Linked DNA regions of Homo sapiens: all the other regions are linked to region 2. Evidence: promoter capture Hi-C in 16 types of primary human blood cells and fetal thymus (Javierre and others, 2016). All regions are on one chromosome and are shown on one strand. Each heading gives the region's core, a stretch centred on a gene start or on the middle of the fragment in contact. The rest is flanking DNA. Distances are from core to core; before and after follow the strand shown.

Evidence for each region. The method cuts DNA at HindIII sites, captures the fragments that hold promoters and counts their contacts. A CHiCAGO score of 5 or more calls a contact.
Region 1: a contact is called between the fragment with the promoter of TSPAN1 here and the fragment with the promoter of HECTD3 in region 2, in 4 of 17 cell types (total B cells, neutrophils, non-activated CD4 T cells and 1 more). The highest score is 14.5, in total B cells.
Region 3: a contact is called between the fragment with the promoter of LURAP1 here and the fragment with the promoter of HECTD3 in region 2, in 1 of 17 cell types (M0 macrophages). The highest score is 5.7, in M0 macrophages.

What each region holds. Positions count from the first base shown.
Region 1 is chr1:46,173,689-46,176,388 of GRCh38, reverse strand. It overlaps TSPAN1 (tetraspanin 1), which reads right to left and starts at 1,302. Exons shown (of 9, transcript NM_005727.4): 1 at 980-1,302. It overlaps P3R3URF-PIK3R3 (P3R3URF-PIK3R3 readthrough), which reads left to right. Exons shown (of 10, transcript NM_001303427.2): 1 at 1-161. It overlaps P3R3URF (PIK3R3 upstream open reading frame), which reads left to right. Exons shown (of 2, transcript NM_001328655.2): 1 at 1-161; 2 at 760-903. The coding sequence ends at 803. It also overlaps a transcript of PIK3R3 not described here. The HindIII fragment of the contact is 4,826 bases long and covers 831-2,700 here.
Region 2 is chr1:45,009,643-45,012,573 of GRCh38, reverse strand. HECTD3 (HECT domain E3 ubiquitin protein ligase 3) reads left to right here and starts at 1,250. Exons shown (of 21, transcript NM_024602.6): 1 at 1,250-1,685; 2 at 1,868-2,028; 3 at 2,281-2,373; 4 at 2,453-2,588; 5 at 2,891-2,931. The coding sequence starts at 1,317. UROD (uroporphyrinogen decarboxylase) reads right to left here and starts at 320. Exons shown (of 10, transcript NM_000374.5): 1 at 289-320. The coding sequence starts at 308. RefSeq lists enhancers at 224-353, 394-443 and silencers at 1,204-1,333, 1,414-1,583. The HindIII fragment of the contact is 5,887 bases long and covers 1-1,468 here.
Region 3 is chr1:46,201,760-46,204,610 of GRCh38, reverse strand. LURAP1 (leucine rich adaptor protein 1) reads right to left here and starts at 1,277. Exons shown (of 2, transcript NM_001013615.3): 1 at 987-1,277. The coding sequence starts at 1,184. It also overlaps a transcript of POMGNT1 not described here. RefSeq lists a silencer at 1,237-1,356. The HindIII fragment of the contact is 3,345 bases long and covers 1-1,801 here.

The DNA of each region.
Region 1 (2,700 bases), core at 53-2,552, 1.2 Mb before region 2:
GCCCCGATTTCCCAGGATGTTCAAGTGTAGCCGCAGAAGATATCAACAGGGTCTCCGAGGTCGAACTGCCAGCAGTGCAGCCATCAATCCTGCCACCAGGGCCATGGGTATCAACAACACCCACACTGACACCACCATAGTGTGGATCTTCCCACCTCAAGGTTAGCCAGGGGGCCTGTGAGCCAGGGTGGGGTTTTAAAAAACAGAGCCACTAGGCTGGGTGCGGTGGCTCATGCCTGTAATCCCGGCACTTTGGGAGGCCAAGGCGGGCAGATCACAAGGTCAGGAGATCGAGACCATCCTGGCTAACACGGTGAAATCCCATCTCTACTAAAAATACAAAAAAAAATTAGCCGGGCGTGGTGGCACACGCCTTTAGTCCCAGCTACTTGGGAGGCTGAGGCAGGAGAATTGCTTGAACCCGGGAGGCAGAGGTTGCAGTGAGCCAAGATCGCGCCACTGCACTCCAGCCTGGGTGACAGAGCTAGACTCTGTCTCAAGAAAAAAAAAAAAAAACCAGAGCCAGTGAAGATTTCCCTACCTGGTTCTGTTTAGGCACGCCAAAGGATGATCTCTGTGAAATAGCACCCCTACATATATGGGGGACTCCTGATGGCAGGCACCCCAAAGTGCTGACAGCCTTAATGGAGGATGGATTGGCTGGAAGCAGAGGGTTTGGGGAGGGGCTGAATCCAAGAGGCAGGGAACTTCCAGAACTGCTTCCTTCCTCAAACTCTTCCCTCTCCTTCCTCTCCTCAGTTCTCAGACATCTCAGGCAACCTGGGATTTTTCTGATCCTCTAGAAGTGCCCAGAAGCTAGCCCAGAAGCTTGGTTTGCCCTGGACCTGCATCTCCTAGGGGCCGTGTGGGTGGTGAACAACAAATACAGTCATTCTGCTCAAACTGCCTTATTCCACACAGAGGTGTTAACCAGCTGACTATGCAGGGCGTGAGGGGAGGGTTATGGCTGAATACTTACAGGGAAAGGCTTCAGTGACCGCAGCAGGGATCATAGTTTAAGACAGCAGGAGGACAGGACAAGGTCAGCAACATAGACCATCTTTGGTCTCAGCTCTTGATCTGCCCCATGAAGTAGGGGCTCTCTTGCCTTACACTCCTAACTGCACAGGGAGAAGGGTCTCTGTAAACATCTTGGAAGGTATTGGGAGGCACAGATCAGAGAGGGATAGGATGAAAGACTGAACCCTGAGAGTACACAAGTATGAGGTGGATGTGAGGTGGATGTGCCTCTGTGTGCCTGTGATGGTCAGCGTGTAGGTGTAGCTGCTGGTGTGTGTGTCTGAGGCCGGGAGAATAGGAGTATCAGTAGATGTGGCTGAATGTGCCTTTGTGATTTAATGTGCCTCTGTGACTGACTGTGAGTGTCAAGGAGCGTTTGTGAGGGTATGGGTGTGCCGGAGAGGACATCAGCCCTGGTAAGAAAAGTGAAGGTCAGGAGGGGGATGGGGAACAGCCTAAAGGAGGAGAACATGGAGAAGGGTGAGATTCTGAGAAAGGCATACTACCTTCGGCCCTTCAACCATTCTCTGAGGTCAGTGTTTTCCAGAACTGGCAGCTGAGCTGGGGTGCTTAGGGGTGGGGCAAGACTGAGTTTGAGCCCAGAAAGTAGGGAGGGTGCTAAGCTCTCTGGCCTGGGGATTTTCCATTTGGATTTCTGAGTGTGTGCTCATGTGTCACTGGCTGTAACCGGGTTTCTGTGGGGTTGTGTCTTAGTCGCTGGGAACATTTTGTAGGACTCTGTCTCGAATATGTTGCATCATGCATGGGCTAATACGTGTTGCACCGGTCCGAGATCTGGCTGCATTTCCAGGCTACCTTCCCAAGGGGCTAGGGAAGGGAGTGAACCCTGAGACCTTTGGTGGCCTGGCCCCCTGGGGTTCAGGAAGTGTGGCTAATGTCCTTTGCTGCCTGTGAAGGGAAAGTGAATTGTGCTTATGTCTATCTACCCCAACTCTTGCCAGAGACTGGGACCCTGAGGGGGGTTGAGGCAGAGAATTCACTGACACACCATGCCCAGACGGTGCTGGGCTCCTCAGGTTATGGGATGGGGGTTGCTGAACATCAGTCAAAGCTAGAAGGTGCTTGGGCCATGCTCAAGGGCCCAAGAGGGGCCATACATATAAAGATACATGACACAGTTCACAAACACATGCAGACATGTAAATATAAGTGAACTCATAGACACATACTGCAACAACCACACACATGCATGCAAGCACATACTATAAGCAGATATACGCAGACACAAATGCATAGATCCCCACACGATATATGTAACAACACATACGCATGCCTCTAAATGAACACAGACAGAAACATGCATGCACCCAGACACAAGCACACAAGCACCCAGATGCAGACACATGCCTTCACACTCATGCAAACCCAGGCACACACAGACATACACGCATGCAGACACACTCACCAGACTTCCCTGCCCCTGCGGCCCTGGGACCCAGAAGCCTCCCTCCCCTATATGAGTGTGTAGTATGTGTGTGTGCATGCACTCATGCCCACACTTGTGTCTGTGTGTATCTGTGTCTGTGAGAGTGTGTGTTTGTGCTCGAGTGTGTGTATGATGGGGGTGCTAAGCTGTGGGAACCAGATGACATCATCTCTTCCAGCTATTTTTAGCTGTATCTGCGATGATGGCTTCTTCACTGCCCCTCCCCCTTCAGG
Region 2 (2,931 bases), core at 1-2,500:
GGGCTGGTTCAGGGGCTGAGAAATACCCAGGCTGGGGGATAAAGAGGGATCAGAGTTGATGGTCCCAGAATAGAGATCCTGGTTGGAAATCCTGAGGCATCCCTTGAATTAAGGCCCTGGGATGAACATCTCAAAAATCCATGGTTTTAGGATTCAGGATCCCAGCTAACGGAGTTCAGGTTGGGAGGTCTCCAGGGTGGGGAAAGGGGAGTAGAGGGATAGAGTCCTGAGTTGGAAGACTCAAATTAGAAGCCCGGCTAGCCACACCGCGTGCTCTGGAGAACTCACCCCAACCCATTCGCTTCCATGGTCAGCTGTCTGTAACTGCGAGCTCAATCCACAATTTAACCTGAATCTGAGCCTGCCCCCCAGTCCAGGCTCCGCCCCTTTCTGTAGGGAACCAAGAGCGTCGCCATGTTGAAGATCACATGATCGGACTCCAGCGACAGCTCCAGGGCTGCCCTGGCTGCTGCCCGTAGGACCCCTACCTTTTTTCACCGTAAAGTTTGCTGTAGCGACGCAACAACAAAGGCCCAAAAGAAAACTCCGCTGTAAATGTATCTTACGGTGACATGAGGAATTTGTTCTCATCTGACAGTCTGGGTATCCGGAGGCTTGGCGCAAGTCCCACTCATGATACCAACAGTCTTATCCAGCCAGGTCCATACTATAGCCTGGACCTATAGTAGGTGCAGAGGTTAGCTCTGCTCAAGACAGCCCCAGCCTTTAAGGAGCTACAAGACTGGGGAAACAGAAATCAGCAATCACATTAAAATGAATAATGATCTCCAGTGTCCTTGGGATTAGGAGTGACAAACAGAATCAACCCTAATGACTCAAGACTCCTGTCAGTGGCAGGGGAAGGGGCCATTGTCTCAAACACTTTAATCACACCACCCATAGGATAGGGAGTCCAGCAGATTCGCTGGGAGTGGGAGGAAAAACAGCAGGCCGAAGAACCAGAAAAATGACTGTTGGCAATGACCCAGGCTAGCTAGAATGGTGACTTGAATGAGGGTAGTAGCAGTAGAGATAAAATGGTAGTCACAAGGAAATGGAGAGAGGGAGATTGATCAGGTAGCAATCACCAATCTTGGGTTTGGTCGGCTGGGTTAGGGTGGCACAGAGATAAGTAATATGGTTGAGTGTGGGAGTACACAGTCCAATACAGTGAGAGCTGGGGTGCGCTTAGTCCAGAACATACGGCAAAGGCTGGCCAAAGGCGGGGAAGGGCGTGGTGGGAAGCTCTGTCCGCGGTCGCGCCAGCTGTTCCCCGGGCAGGGTCGCCTCTAGGTGCTCACCTCCGCCACTTCGCCATGGCGGGTCCTGGCCCGGGCGCGGTGCTGGAGTCCCCCCGGCAGCTGCTGGGCCGCGTGCGCTTCTTGGCAGAGGCAGCGCGGAGCCTCCGCGCCGGGCGGCCGCTGCCAGCAGCGCTGGCTTTCGTGCCGCGAGAGGTGCTCTACAAGCTTTACAAGGACCCAGCGGGACCGTCGCGCGTGCTTCTGCCGGTGTGGGAGGCAGAGGGCCTGGGGCTGCGTGTGGGCGCCGCAGGCCCAGCCCCCGGTACCGGCTCCGGGCCCCTCCGCGCCGCCCGCGACAGCATTGAGCTCCGGCGCGGCGCCTGCGTGCGCACCACGGGCGAGGAGCTGTGCAATGGCCACGGGCTCTGGGTGAAGCTGACAAAGGTGCGCTCTTCCCTGCCCAGGACCCGGTAAAAGACCCCTGGGGCCAGAGAAACCTCTGGCTGTTTGCCTTTTCTCCCCTGTATTGAGTTGGCATTGCGTTCGGCGCCCTTTGCCCTGGGCTGGGCACGACAGGCGGCTGGGCAGTTCCCTGACGGCTGTCCCCATCCTACGCGTCCCGGCAGGAGCAGCTGGCAGAGCACCTGGGCGACTGCGGGCTGCAGGAAGGCTGGCTGCTGGTGTGCCGCCCGGCGGAGGGCGGAGCCCGCCTGGTACCCATCGACACTCCCAACCACCTCCAGCGGCAGCAGCAGCTCTTTGGCGTGGATTATCGGCCGGTGCTCAGGTACTGCACTTGAAGGAGCGGGGCTGGCTGTCAGAAGGCCGGGCCAGGAGGGCTTGGGAACACTTCAGCCACAGCCTGGGGTGGGTGGGATACTGGAGCGGAGGCAGGGTTAAGAGCAGAAAGGGGCGGGACGTGAAGGGGGCTCGGAGGGAGACTGGGAGATAGAGCCCTGAAGAAGGCTACACGGCATGGAGGTAGTGTCTTGCTGACCGCTGATGTCTCCCCATCCCACTCCCTACTCTGTGCCCACAGGTGGGAACAGGTGGTGGACCTGACATACTCACATCGCCTGGGATCGAGACCTCAGCCGGCAGAGGCATACGCAGAAGCTGTACAAAGGCTACTGTGAGTGAGCTGGAATGGGGTGGGGAGGAAGGAGCTCTGCGTCTGGGCCCAGTCTAATTAGGGGCTTGGGGTTGCTTAGCTATGTACCCCCGACATGGACCTACGAGTGCGACGAGGACCTGATCCACTTCTTGTATGACCACCTGGGCAAGGAGGATGAGAACCTGGGTAGCGTGAAGCAGTATGTGGAGAGCATAGACGTTTCCTCCTACACGGTGGGTGCTGGGGCTCCTCCCACCCCAGGCAAGATATAGTCACACCCCTCAAGGCTAGATCCAGAAAGAACCCCCACCTGCAGGCCAGGACTAAAACAGGGTCCCCACAGGCCACACTCAGTTCAGCTCCCCATCTTGGACGTCTATAGGACCCCTTACATACCCAGCGGCCCCCTATCCCATACCAGTTGCCTGTTAGCCCAACTTCACTATGCTTTCTCTCTGGTGCTCCTGGCCCAGAGCACAAGCCCAGTGCAGGGAGGGAGGGTAACTGCTGACTTCACGTCTCTGCCCCTCCCCAGGAGGAGTTCAACGTGTCCTGCCTGACAGACAGCAATGCCGA
Region 3 (2,851 bases), core at 28-2,527, 1.2 Mb before region 2:
GGCTGGTCTCAGAGCCCCCATGATTTCCTTCCCCTTCTCCTTCACAGACCAGCTTGGCACAGGCTGGGCACACAGGAAGACTTTAGCTGACGTACTCACTGTGGGCTCCTGGTTGTGAGCCAGGAAGCCGATGGCAATTCCTCAGTTCCCCAGAACTGGCTGCAAAGTAGTGGCAGGTGTAAATCACCCACTTCACCGGAATCAGGGCCCTGGGGAACCTGCCAGGGCCTCGGCTGCCCTTTTGGCTCTGAATCTAGACCAGCAGCAATAGAGAAAGGGGAGGGTTGCTGTTTCCTCTTCTCCCCAAGAATGTACAGATGAGATCCAAATATCCAGTTTACCTGGAAGACTGGCTGGGAGGAGACTGAGTCTGAGGCGAGGGAATCAGCACCAGTGGTGCTGCTACTCTCTGTCCCTGCTATGGGTCTAGGAACTTTCCATTATTTTAAGTAGGGCTGGGGGATGTAGAGGAAACGGAGAAGGTTTTCAGTGCCCCTGGTCCAGGTAGTTTTCAGCAGATAGGCCCCTTTACCCACTTCTTTTCTGTGCGGAACACTGCGGCCTCACAGGAACTTAAACCCTTTCCCGGTTAGCAGAAGGAGAAAAAACCGGTTGCCTTACAACGGGGACTGGCGGGGAATAGGTGGCCCATACAGGCGGGGGGAATTTGTGCTGCGTTGGGTTCTCAGTACTTCCCAGTCCTCATCTCTCTCCTCCCAATTATTTGGCAGGAATAACTTCCAAAACCCACTGCTCCCAACCCAAGTCCTCAGGACCATCAACACCCCACTCACTCTTGGGGGACAAGTAATGGACGTCACTCCATCTCCACCCCAGCGTTTACGGATTGATCTGGGAGGGATTCTGAGCAGTTAGGTGGAGAGTTTTAACTACCTCCTCTCCAGCTTAACTCTGGGAGCATGAGTTCGTCCCTCCCGGCCCTACACTAGGGACTCGTCCCCTTGGCCCATGGATTCAGCACTCACCAGCTCCATCTTCAGCGCCATGATCTTGTCCCCCAAGTCGTGGCCGGTGCTAGACGCCCCTGGGAGCAGCAGGGCGCCAGAGGTTCCCAGCTCACACTCGCCTCGCAGCCCGCGGAGCAGCCCTTCAGGGGTCTTCCTGCCCACCTTACCCTCCACATCCCGCAGGTCAGGCGTCTGGGACTCCACGGTCCCCTCCATGCGGGCCCAAGCCTGAAAAGGGCTGGGCGACCGGACGCCGGGGACCGGCTCCCGGGGGTCCTCCCTTCGCCGCTGCTAAAGCGGAGCAAAACCGGTGGGTCCCCGCCCGCGCGGCGCGGGGGCGGGAGGAGGGCGCCGTAACACTCAGAAAAGCCGCGCAGCACCGTCTGTGGATGTATTCGAGTGCTGCGCACACAACCTCTGGCCCTGGATTGCGTGGGGCTGGGCGATTCTGGAGTTGGACCTGAAAGAGCACTCGGAGACCTCAGCGCCTTCGCCCCACCCTGGCACTGAATCCAGCCAGGCACACAGCAGGCGCCCAATACATGTTTGCAGAATGAAGTCTAAGCAGCTTCAGTCAGAGATGTGGGAGTTTAAGGAACAGCGGTAACAGAGAGCTGCAGAGGGCTTGGAAGTCTTCCTGGAGCAGAGGAATTGGGTATAAAACGATGACTGGATTTTAGCTAGACACACACACACACACACACACACACACACACACACACCACCCCCCCCCCCCAGGGGCTAGAATTCAGGCTAACGGAGTAGAAAAGGGCAACCAGTACTGAAGCTGAAGAGGTCCACGTTGGGCTTACAAGCAAGATGCTCCTTAAGCTTGACTGTGCGTATGAATTATCTGCGGATCTTGTTAAAATGTAGGTTCTGATTTTGTAAATCTGGGGTGGGGCTTGAGATCCTGCATTTTTTTTTTTTTTTTTTTTTTTTTTTTGAGACAGAGTCTCGCTCTGTCGCCCAGGATGTAGCGTGGTGGCGCGATCTTGGCTCACTACAAACCTCTGCCTCCCTGGGTTCAAGCAATTCTCCTGCCTCTGCCTCCTGAGTAGCTGGGATTACAGGCATGCGCCACCATGCCCAGCTAATATTTTTGTATTTTTAGTAGAGACAGGGTTTCACCATGTTGGCCAGGCTGGTCTTGAACTCCTGACTTCAAGTGATCCGCCTGCCTTGGCCTCCCAAAGTGCTGGGATTACAGGTGTGAGCCACTGCGCCCAGCCAAGATCCTGCATTTCTAATAAGCTCCCAGGTGATGGCCATGCTGCTGGTCCACACTTCAAGTAATAAGGGACCACACTTTGAGTAACAAGGTTACAGAAAATGGTTCTGAGATGTTTGGGTTTTATTTAACAGGTAATGAACAGCCATGAAAACTCTGGTTTGTTTAGGCTTTTAATTCAAGTAATTCCAGCCCATGGTTGCAGAAGGATTTACAATGAGAAGATAGTTACCCCTACCCTACCCTTTCACACCTCTAGGCCCACTCCCAATTGGCAAAAAATAACTTTTAGTTTTTTTTTTTCTTTTGGTGTTCATACCCATAACGTTATTGTTTAGAGTTAACTAAAAGTGGTTGCCAATTGGGAGTGGGCCTAGAGGTGTGAAAGGGTAGGGTAGGAGTAACTATCCTCTTATTGTAAATCCTACCACTATTTTTTCTTTTTTAGAGACAGGGTCTTCCTACATTGCCCAGGCTGGACTCAAACTCCTGGGCTCAAGCAATCCTCCTGCCTCCCAAGCAGCTGTGACTACAGGAGTATGCCACCATGCCCAGCCACACTACTTCTCAATTTTAAACATTCATCTGCTGTTTATTGTCCTATTCAGATAAATATGGATATATGGGTTTAACTCACACTCTGTAGTTCCTT